Linked DNA regions of Homo sapiens: regions 1 and 3 are each linked to region 2. The links are contacts of gene promoters, found by promoter capture Hi-C in blood cells and fetal thymus (Javierre and others, 2016). All regions are on one chromosome and are shown on one strand. The core of a region is centred on a gene start or on the middle of the fragment in contact, and the rest is flanking DNA. Distances in the headings are between cores, read along the strand shown. Region 1 has its middle 18 kb from the start of PCF11. Region 2 holds the start of ANKRD42 (ankyrin repeat domain 42). Region 3 overlaps PCF11 (PCF11 cleavage and polyadenylation factor subunit).

Evidence for each region. Contacts are between HindIII fragments. The CHiCAGO score rates a contact against its expected background, and 5 or more counts as called.
Region 1: a contact is called between a fragment that was not itself captured here and the fragment with the promoter of ANKRD42 in region 2, in 1 of 17 cell types (neutrophils). The highest score is 5.9, in neutrophils.
Region 3: a fragment that was not itself captured here is called in contact with the fragment with the promoter of ANKRD42 in region 2 in 9 of 17 cell types (monocytes, total CD8 T cells, fetal thymus and 6 more); the score reaches 12.0 in monocytes.

The regions. Positions count from the first base shown.
Region 1 is chr11:83,137,675-83,140,374 of GRCh38, reverse strand. No RefSeq gene overlaps it. Among named protein-coding and RNA genes, the nearest start is that of PCF11, 18 kb to the left of the region's middle. The HindIII fragment of the contact is 5,535 bases long and covers 1-2,700 here.
Region 2 is chr11:83,192,398-83,195,097 of GRCh38, reverse strand. ANKRD42 (ankyrin repeat domain 42) reads right to left here and starts at 1,386. Exons shown (of 11, transcript NM_001300975.2): 1 at 370-1,386. The coding sequence starts at 427. ANKRD42-DT (ANKRD42 divergent transcript) reads left to right here and starts at 1,429. Exons shown (of 3, transcript NR_149009.1): 1 at 1,429-1,631. RefSeq lists enhancers at 410-769, 1,290-1,399, 1,460-1,679 and a silencer at 977-1,155. The HindIII fragment of the contact is 14,061 bases long and covers 1-2,700 here.
Region 3 is chr11:83,158,926-83,161,625 of GRCh38, reverse strand. It overlaps PCF11 (PCF11 cleavage and polyadenylation factor subunit), which reads right to left. Exons shown (of 16, transcript NM_001346413.3): 2 at 174-299. Among named protein-coding and RNA genes, the nearest start is that of PCF11, 3.1 kb to the right of the region's middle. The HindIII fragment of the contact is 345 bases long and covers 1,170-1,514 here.

The DNA.
Region 1 (2,700 bases), core at 72-2,571, 55 kb after region 2:
AAAGTAAGACTCAAAAGATCAGAGCAAAACAAAATGAGTGTGATGCTGTTTCTTTCTTTTTTTTTCGTTTTCTTTCTTTCCTTTTTTTTTTTTTTTTTTTGAGATGTAGTCTTGCTCTGTCGCCCGGTCTGGAGTACAGTGGCTCGATCTTGGCTCACTGCAACCTCCGCCTCCCGAGTTCAAGTGATTCTGCTGCCTCAGTCTCCCAAGTAGCTGGGGTTACAGGTGAGCCACCATGCCTGGCTAATTTTCATATTTTTAATAGAGAAGGGATTTAGCCATGTTGGGCAGGCTGGTCTCGAACTCCTGACCTCAAGTGATCTGCCTGCCTTGGCCTCCCAAAGTGCTGGGATTACAGGCATTAACCACTGCGGCCAGCTATGTCTCTTATCATACTCTGAAGAGACACAATTTTGAGAGGCTGAGAGGAGGAGTCTTCCACATGCTGGAGCCATTTAGCCCAAGTTTCAAGGACAAAAAGGCCTCAGATTTTGGCTGTTGTTTGGCGTAGAATTTTCAAAGGGGAGGGAAAGGCCTTATTGTAAATATTAATACTAAATACATACGAATCCCTATGACAAGCTATGTCAAAGGGAAGAAGACTGATTCAAGAAGACTGACTTCAAAATTTGAAAGCTGCTCCAGCTTCACAGAGGCTCTTTCAAGATCTAAGAATGGAGAGCAGACCAAAACTACTGCATATTTATCTACGTGCCTCGAGAACTGGGAGGAGAATTTTACGGGGATTATTGTTGTCTTAAAAAGGACAAACTCTCCACTTGGACAGTTTTAAATTTGTTCTTGCCTAATAGTATAGTTTACAAAAAGAGCTTTTGTCCACAGTTGTTGACTTGAGCTTCACAACAGCCCTGTGAGGTCTTTATGTCCCAATTTATAGATGAGGCGTCAGATGTTCAAAGGGGCTACGGTTGCTGGGTAGGAAGCTCCAGGACTGGGACCAGAATCCAGGTTGTCCTTCTCTTGGTGCAGCGCAGCTTGAGCTTTTATTTCCCACTAAACATGTAATCCAAAAGTGCCTTTACAGTTTTTATTTCCCACTAGCAGATTCAAACCACATCCTCAGATCTGTGATCTTACTAAGAACTTGGCAAACATACACCGAGTCTGACCATTAGCCAGGCATTAGGCTAGGTCCTAAGAACACAGAGTTAAGTAAGTCATATACTTTACCCTTCAGGTCCCAGAATCCAGTCTAAGAGGCAGACATACAAACAATTAGTTGTAATGTAGCATGCTAAGTGCTATAATTCAATTAAGAATTGGATATAGAGTTGAGTAAAAGAAAGATCGGCTCTACTTGTGGTGACTGGGGTAGAGTCTCCTGGAGAAGGTGATGATTAAGGGAAAACTTTAGAAATAAGTAGTAGTGTGTCTGGTGGGCAAGGGGGAAAAGACATTCTTGGCAATATGAACAGTTCATGCAAAGGCATAGAAGTATAAGACAGTATGAATTCAGTGTTTCATTATACACTAATGGGTGCAAAAGTTATACTTCCTAATGTGACTCTTTTGAATCAGCAGTGCCCACTCCTTGCAGTGCAAACTGCAGTTTGCAGTTCCTGGCACCATTCATTTATTTAGAAAATATTTACTGAACCCCTACTATATGGTGAGCACTGTTCAAGGAGCTGGGGATACAAAAAGCCAAGAAAAGTCCCTGTCCTTAAAAAGTCTAGTGGGAAGAAACAGGCAGTAAAAAATAAAAAATAATACGTTAGGGGTTGATAAGGGTTTTGTAAAGAGGTACCTGCCACCACCACAGAGAAGATCAGCTCTGGAAATACATTATTCAAGATTAGTTTGGCTACACATAACAGAAAAATCCAATACAGGAGAGACTTACACAATGCAGAATTTATTTCTCATGTAAAAGAAGTCTTGAGATAGATGGTTATGGCAAGTTATCAGACTATCAGAGGCCCAAGCCCCTTCTCTCTAGTCCACATCCTTAACAGGTGGCTTTAATCCTTATGTTCCAGGACAGATGCTGGAACTCCAGGAATCCTATCATCATCTAGACAGCAGGATGGAGAAATAAAGAAGGGTGGGCCTTCTTCCTTTTAAAGAGATGTAAGGATCGGCCGGGCGCGGTGGCTCACACCTGTAATCCCAGAACTTTGGGAGGCTTAGGTGGGCAGATCATGAGGTCAGGAGTTCAAGACCAGACTGGTCCACATGGAATACAAAAATTAGCCGGGCGTGGTGGTGCACGCCTGTAATCCTAGCTACTCAGTAGGCTGAGGCAGGAGAATTGCTTGAACCCAGGAGGCGGAGGTTGCAGTGAGCTGAGACCACGCCACTGCACTCCGGCCTGAGTGCAGAGAGATACTCCGTCTCAGGAAAAAAAAAAAAAGAGAGAGATGTAAGAATCATATATCATTTCTAATTGCTTGTGGCCCTACCTAGCTACAAGGGAAACTTGAAGAATAGGGTTTTTCTTTGTTATCATTTTTTGTTATTATTATTTTTTAAGATGGGTAGCAACGGGCCCAGCTAAAAATGAACATTCTGTTACACAGGTTATGTTTTGCATCTAGTCCTCTTTCTGTCTCACAGGTCTTCCTCCTCTGTATTCCTTCTTTAATTATCCTATGCCTTCTCCCTGCCTGGTGCTAATTATACTATTTTGACTCTTTCTGATTTGGGTTCTACCTATCCAAAAGACAACACTTCACTTCC
Region 2 (2,700 bases), core at 137-2,636:
GGGTCACTCAATGGAGTGAAAGAAGAAAACTAAGTAAGTACTAATTTGTCACCTCCACAGGGTCAAATGCTGCAGGGAAGTCAAGGAAGAACTTAAAAGGGTCCGTCCATTAAGACTGAACAAGAGTTGATGTCAAGCTGGGCAAGAAGACTCGGAGGAATAGTGTGGATGGAAAAAAGGAAAGAAAGCGGAAATAATACAGAACAGGGGAGAGCTGAACAGCTTTGGTATCCCCTGAAAATAAATTAAAAAGGGAAAGGGGGGAGTGACGGCTGAGAAAAGGAAATGCCAGAAAGGGCTAAGGCTGTTGCGGGCTTAAGTGAGAAAAGGAATACGACAGAGATGAAGGCCAATGACAGTCTGACTCACAGGGGTTTGCAGTCTCCCTAGAGGAAGTGGAGGGGCCTGAATTGGCCACCCCGGGCATGGCGCAACACCTCCGACTCTGGGGAGGAGTTGAGTCCAGGCCCCTGATGCTGCGGCGGTCTTCACTTGCTCTCACCCACGAGCCACTGCAGCGGCAGCGGCCCTCTTCTCCGTCGTCACTAGGACGGGGCCCAAGGTCCTCTCTTGCTCTCTCCCAGAAGCTGCAGCGGAAACCTTCGTCTTCACTTTCTCTCTCCCAAAAGCCACTGAAGCGGTAGCTGGCGTCTTCACTGCCGCTCACACCAGAGGAGTCGCTGGCTGCGTAGCCGCGGTCTCCACTTACTTCCTCCCAAGAACTACCAACGCTGTGGCCGCCTTCGACACTCCCTCCCTCCCAGGAGCCACTGAAGCGGCGACTGCGATCGTCACTGACTCTATCCCCGAAGTCACTAGTTCGCGGGTCCCGAATGTCACTGACTCCCTCCCAAGGACCACTGAGGCGGAGGCCTCGGTCTTCTCTGGCTGTTCCCCTGGAGTCGGTAGTTTGGTGGCCTCCAACTTCACTAAAATTCACGTCGCTGCTGCAGAAGGTGCTGTCTCCCCTAACTCTCTCCCAAGAGCAGCTGTGACTGTGGCCACTATCTCCCCTAACTCTCTCCCTAGAGACGCTGCGGCAGTGGCCGAGGTTTTCACTGACCCTTCTCAAGTCACTGCGGGAGAAGCCGGCGTCTGCACTTAGGCTTCCTGCAGCGACCCTGGAGCGGCGGTCGCTCTCTTCACATTTTCTTTCCCCGTCGTCGCTAACTCTTTCCCTAGACTCGGCGCCGGAATGGCCGTGTAGACCGTTTATCCTCCACACGTGGTGGCTAGTGCGGCGGCCACCGTCTTCGTCTGCTACTCCCTGCGAATCGCCGTAGCGGCGGCCGCCTTCCGCTGGTACTTTCTCGGAGTCTCTTTCCAGCCTCCCGACTCCAGCCACTTGGCTGGAGAGGCAGCAGGGCCGTCGCCTTGGAAACGAGTACACTTCCGACGTGCTGAGGTCATTTCCCGTTCCTCACGGCCCACGCTACTTCCGGTTTCCTTTCCCTCAGCTATTCCATGGCTTTTCGTGTGGACAAATCGGGAGGTGGTGTAAACTGGTTTTTGGTGAAATTCGGCTCGGCCTCATGCGAACCTATCTAGGTCCGTCTCTGGAGTGGCCTGTCATCGATCGCGCCCTCCATCGCTGAGCGACACAAGTGGAACCCCCCAGGACTGCATTCTGCGTAGGTGACCTGTGTGGCGCGGGCCGGGCGGGGCCTTTTTGTCCTTGGGCAAACGTGGTATACTTTCTCAGTGGTGGTTGGAAGGAAATTTGTTGCCCTGTCATTTCGCAAGTATGGAAAAAGACCTAAAGGAGAATTTAGCAGCTGCAGCCGCTGTTTTTATTGCGTACTTTACTAGCGCCAACTCTTTAATAATCGCTTGTTAGTTGTTACCCCTGTTTTATGGGTCAAGAGACTCAATATATCAGTACTTTGGTAAGGCCAGGCAGCAGGTAAGTTGTAAAACCAGTAAAAAAACACAGGTCATTAGTCAAAAGAGTGCTTCAGGTCTCCTGACTCCAAATCCGAGAATCCTTTCACTGTAGCATGTTTACTGCTCAAATATTTCTACAACCCTATTGCTTAACAACAGGAATGAATTATTTCACCATTTGTTGCAAACGTATGGGTCACGTTTTGTGCCAGCAGCAGAAAATACAGAAATTAGTAAGAATTACCTGCCCTCCAGGGGCATCACCAACCTGGATTCCCCTCTCGGCCCAGTTTTTCCACCCTTATTGCCTTCTCCCTTCAGGAATAATGAACTCGTCCTGGAAGCGTACCTTACTTTTTAATATCTCTGCCTTGTCATGTGCTGTTCGTCTTACCAGGAAACTACCCTGCTTTTCCCCCAGTTTTGGTCTGTGAACACATTTGGGAAATTCTTCTGATCCTACCGCTACTCTCTTGAGGTACAGTAAATTGTCTTTGACTTCCATCACCTTTTGTAATATTACAATTGCCATCTACTGAGTTCCTATGATCTGCCTGGCATTGTACTAAGTGCTTTATATTTTCTTGTTCATTTTTTTATGCCAACATAAATGAGTTTGACTCAATTCTTATTATAACCTGCCAAAATAAGTATTCCTCTTCCTTTTTACAGAGAGAGAAACAAGGGAAAAAAAAGTTAATTGCCTGAGGATATACTGCTAGTGTTGCGGGACAAATAGAGACGGGAGAGGCCAAACAGAATTCAGGACAACCCTTTATTATTAAGGTGATCACTGGCTCAGTCGGACTGGGGTCC
Region 3 (2,700 bases), core at 93-2,592, 33 kb after region 2:
ATCTAACATAAAACATTAACTTCAGCCTCTTTCTTTGAAATGGTACTAACGATAAATGTCCAAAAGTATAAAACATTTCACCACCCAAGAAAACCCAACACAAAGCAAATATTTATTTAATCAGGAACACATTTTTTAAAAAAAAACGCAAATGTTTCTAAATGCATATGTACCTTTTCAAACACACAAATAAATGTTGCAACTAGATTTTTAGTAAAGGCAGTGAGATACTCTCTTCCAACGTTTTTCACAATAGAATCCATAAGGTACATAACAGGAAGCTTCTCTGAGGAAGGAGCCTGAATAAAAAGAAACTGAGAAGTTTAGTATAATGAATTACCACCAAATAATTATTTAAAAATGAGTTTTTAAACCTACAATACAGACCTCTATTTTTGTTGATACTAAATATTTTTGAAGTAATCTTTATGAAACTTAAGTGTTCAATCAAGCTCTCAACTCTCACAATCCTTAGTTGAGCACAAAAAAGCTCAGAATTACCAGGATGAACAACAGCTGTAATCCCTAATATACTCATTTAACACTCAATGAAATTTCAAGTTCATGTGGTAAAAAGACCTGTGTTTTAAGTGACAAAAATAAGGAGGAGGCGAGGGAAAATTACTTTATATAATCCAAGTGTCAGTTTTGTGACCCATATTAACTTACAACGGTGTGCCTACACTCAAAGCAGTTTTTAGACCTCTTGTAGAAACTAATTTCCATGGGCATATTTTATATGTTCAAGTCTATGAAGCTTTTGTTACCTGTAAAATCATTAGGATTACTTCTCTATAATCCAAATGAACAAAAATTAAAAACACTTCACCTAGGAAGTCAATGGCAAAACACTGAAACTTGCACACGAACATGCAGGAAGTTGCAAGTTTGTTACTCAGACAAGAAAAACTGGATGGAGCAGCCGCTGAATCATGTAAATCAGGTTGAACTTGACTCTGGAAACCAGGATTTGTCCTGAAGATTTTCTTCACAGCCTGGACTCTCCGCCGAGATATTTTCCTCTGACATGCACAAACCAGGGGTTATAAATTTGTGCAGAGCCAGTGTGGTGATGCTGATACAGGTGGCCCTTTCCAAAGTAAAGAAATGTTGCCCCAGTTCAACTGCAATGCCTACCCACCACTGGCTTTTAGAAGGCACAGCAAGCTTCCAGAAAGCATCAGCAGGTTCACAGACTTGTTGAGGAGCATTAAGACACACCATAATAGTTTTAACTCTGACTCCAAAGGAGCACCCATGATTTAAAATAAAAAAAAAAGACAAAAAAAAAAAAAAAAAAAAAACTTAGGTTATCCCCATTTACCCACCCCACGTGTATAGGAATCTTAACCCTAAGTAACACTTACCCATAGCTGCCTGAAGCTAGGGTAGGCTCACAGTTCTGGAGTACACAATGCCATCATATATAATAAAACCAATTGCCCATACAAGTGTGTGGAAATGCTCTTGCTTCTGATAACACCTTTACAACCAAAAGTTGGCTAAGGGAAGCTTTGAATAACTTTGTATGAAAAATTTCTTTTAAGGTACTGTCTAATAAAAGGGTTCACCCACTGCATGTGGGTCAACTATATTAAGTACGAACATGTCAAATGGTTTACTGCTGTGTCTTTACCTTACCATGTCATGTTTTACACCATTTTAGTCATTATTGTACTTATGAAGATAAACAGGCTCTCTTAAACACCAAAGTCTGTTAAGTAGGCTAATTTTTTATTGTACAAGTGAAGTCCTTTTATGTATTATTTTTCGCTACTGCTCTCTCTTGGGAGGAGTCAAATTAAGTGTGAATCCTTTAAGTTTAGTAACGCAGAGAAGCTAAAGAATAAGGACACAAACATTCACCTCCAAAACACAAAACCAGGCCAGTTTGCTACCAAATAACGGAAATCCCTCCCCTCACCCTCGATCCCAACCCAGATTAAGATAGATCCCCCAAAGTGACTTTTACATCTTTTCCTCAACCTGGCTTTACAAAAATAACCAGGAAACGTGTGCCCCCAAAATTTCAGCTGTCTTTTACCAGCAAAGAGCTCATCTATTTTCATCACTGTGTAGCGATATACAAACACAAGTTTTATGTGGTCACTATATTCAGCATTTAGTTTTCGGTTCTCGAAGGTCTTCCGGATCCATTAAAAACCAGCAAGGTTCTTTGAGTGACAACCTGAGCTGCTAAATATTAGGCGCTGTGGAATATTAAATCCCAAGATACGAGGTAATTAGATTTTAAAAATCAATGTTTTTGCCTTAAAAACACAAGTGCTTTAAGGCATTTAATGTCAAGTTAAGCCTTCAACAAGGCAAAAACTAAGTTTTCATGTCCAAGATGTTTGTGGTATCAATAAAAAGCATGTTGAGTATGACGAATGCTTCCTTTTTAAATCTCACACTTAAAAAAAAAAGCTGTTTTACATACACTTTCACAGGAAAAAGTGAACGAAAACTTGTATCTTAGCTGTCAGACTGAGCATGATAAACTTGTTGAGGTCCTTAAAAGGAAAAAGAAAAAAAACCCTTCCTTTTCGTCCTCTTTAAATTATGAAAGGACCACCTGAAACCGTGTATCTTGTGAAGAGGTTTACCCAAAAGAGTGGATGGAACCTAAAGAAGAATGAACCCAAGTCACTTAAAGACTTTTGTTTAAAACACACAACCACGTAGATAAAAATAAGTCTT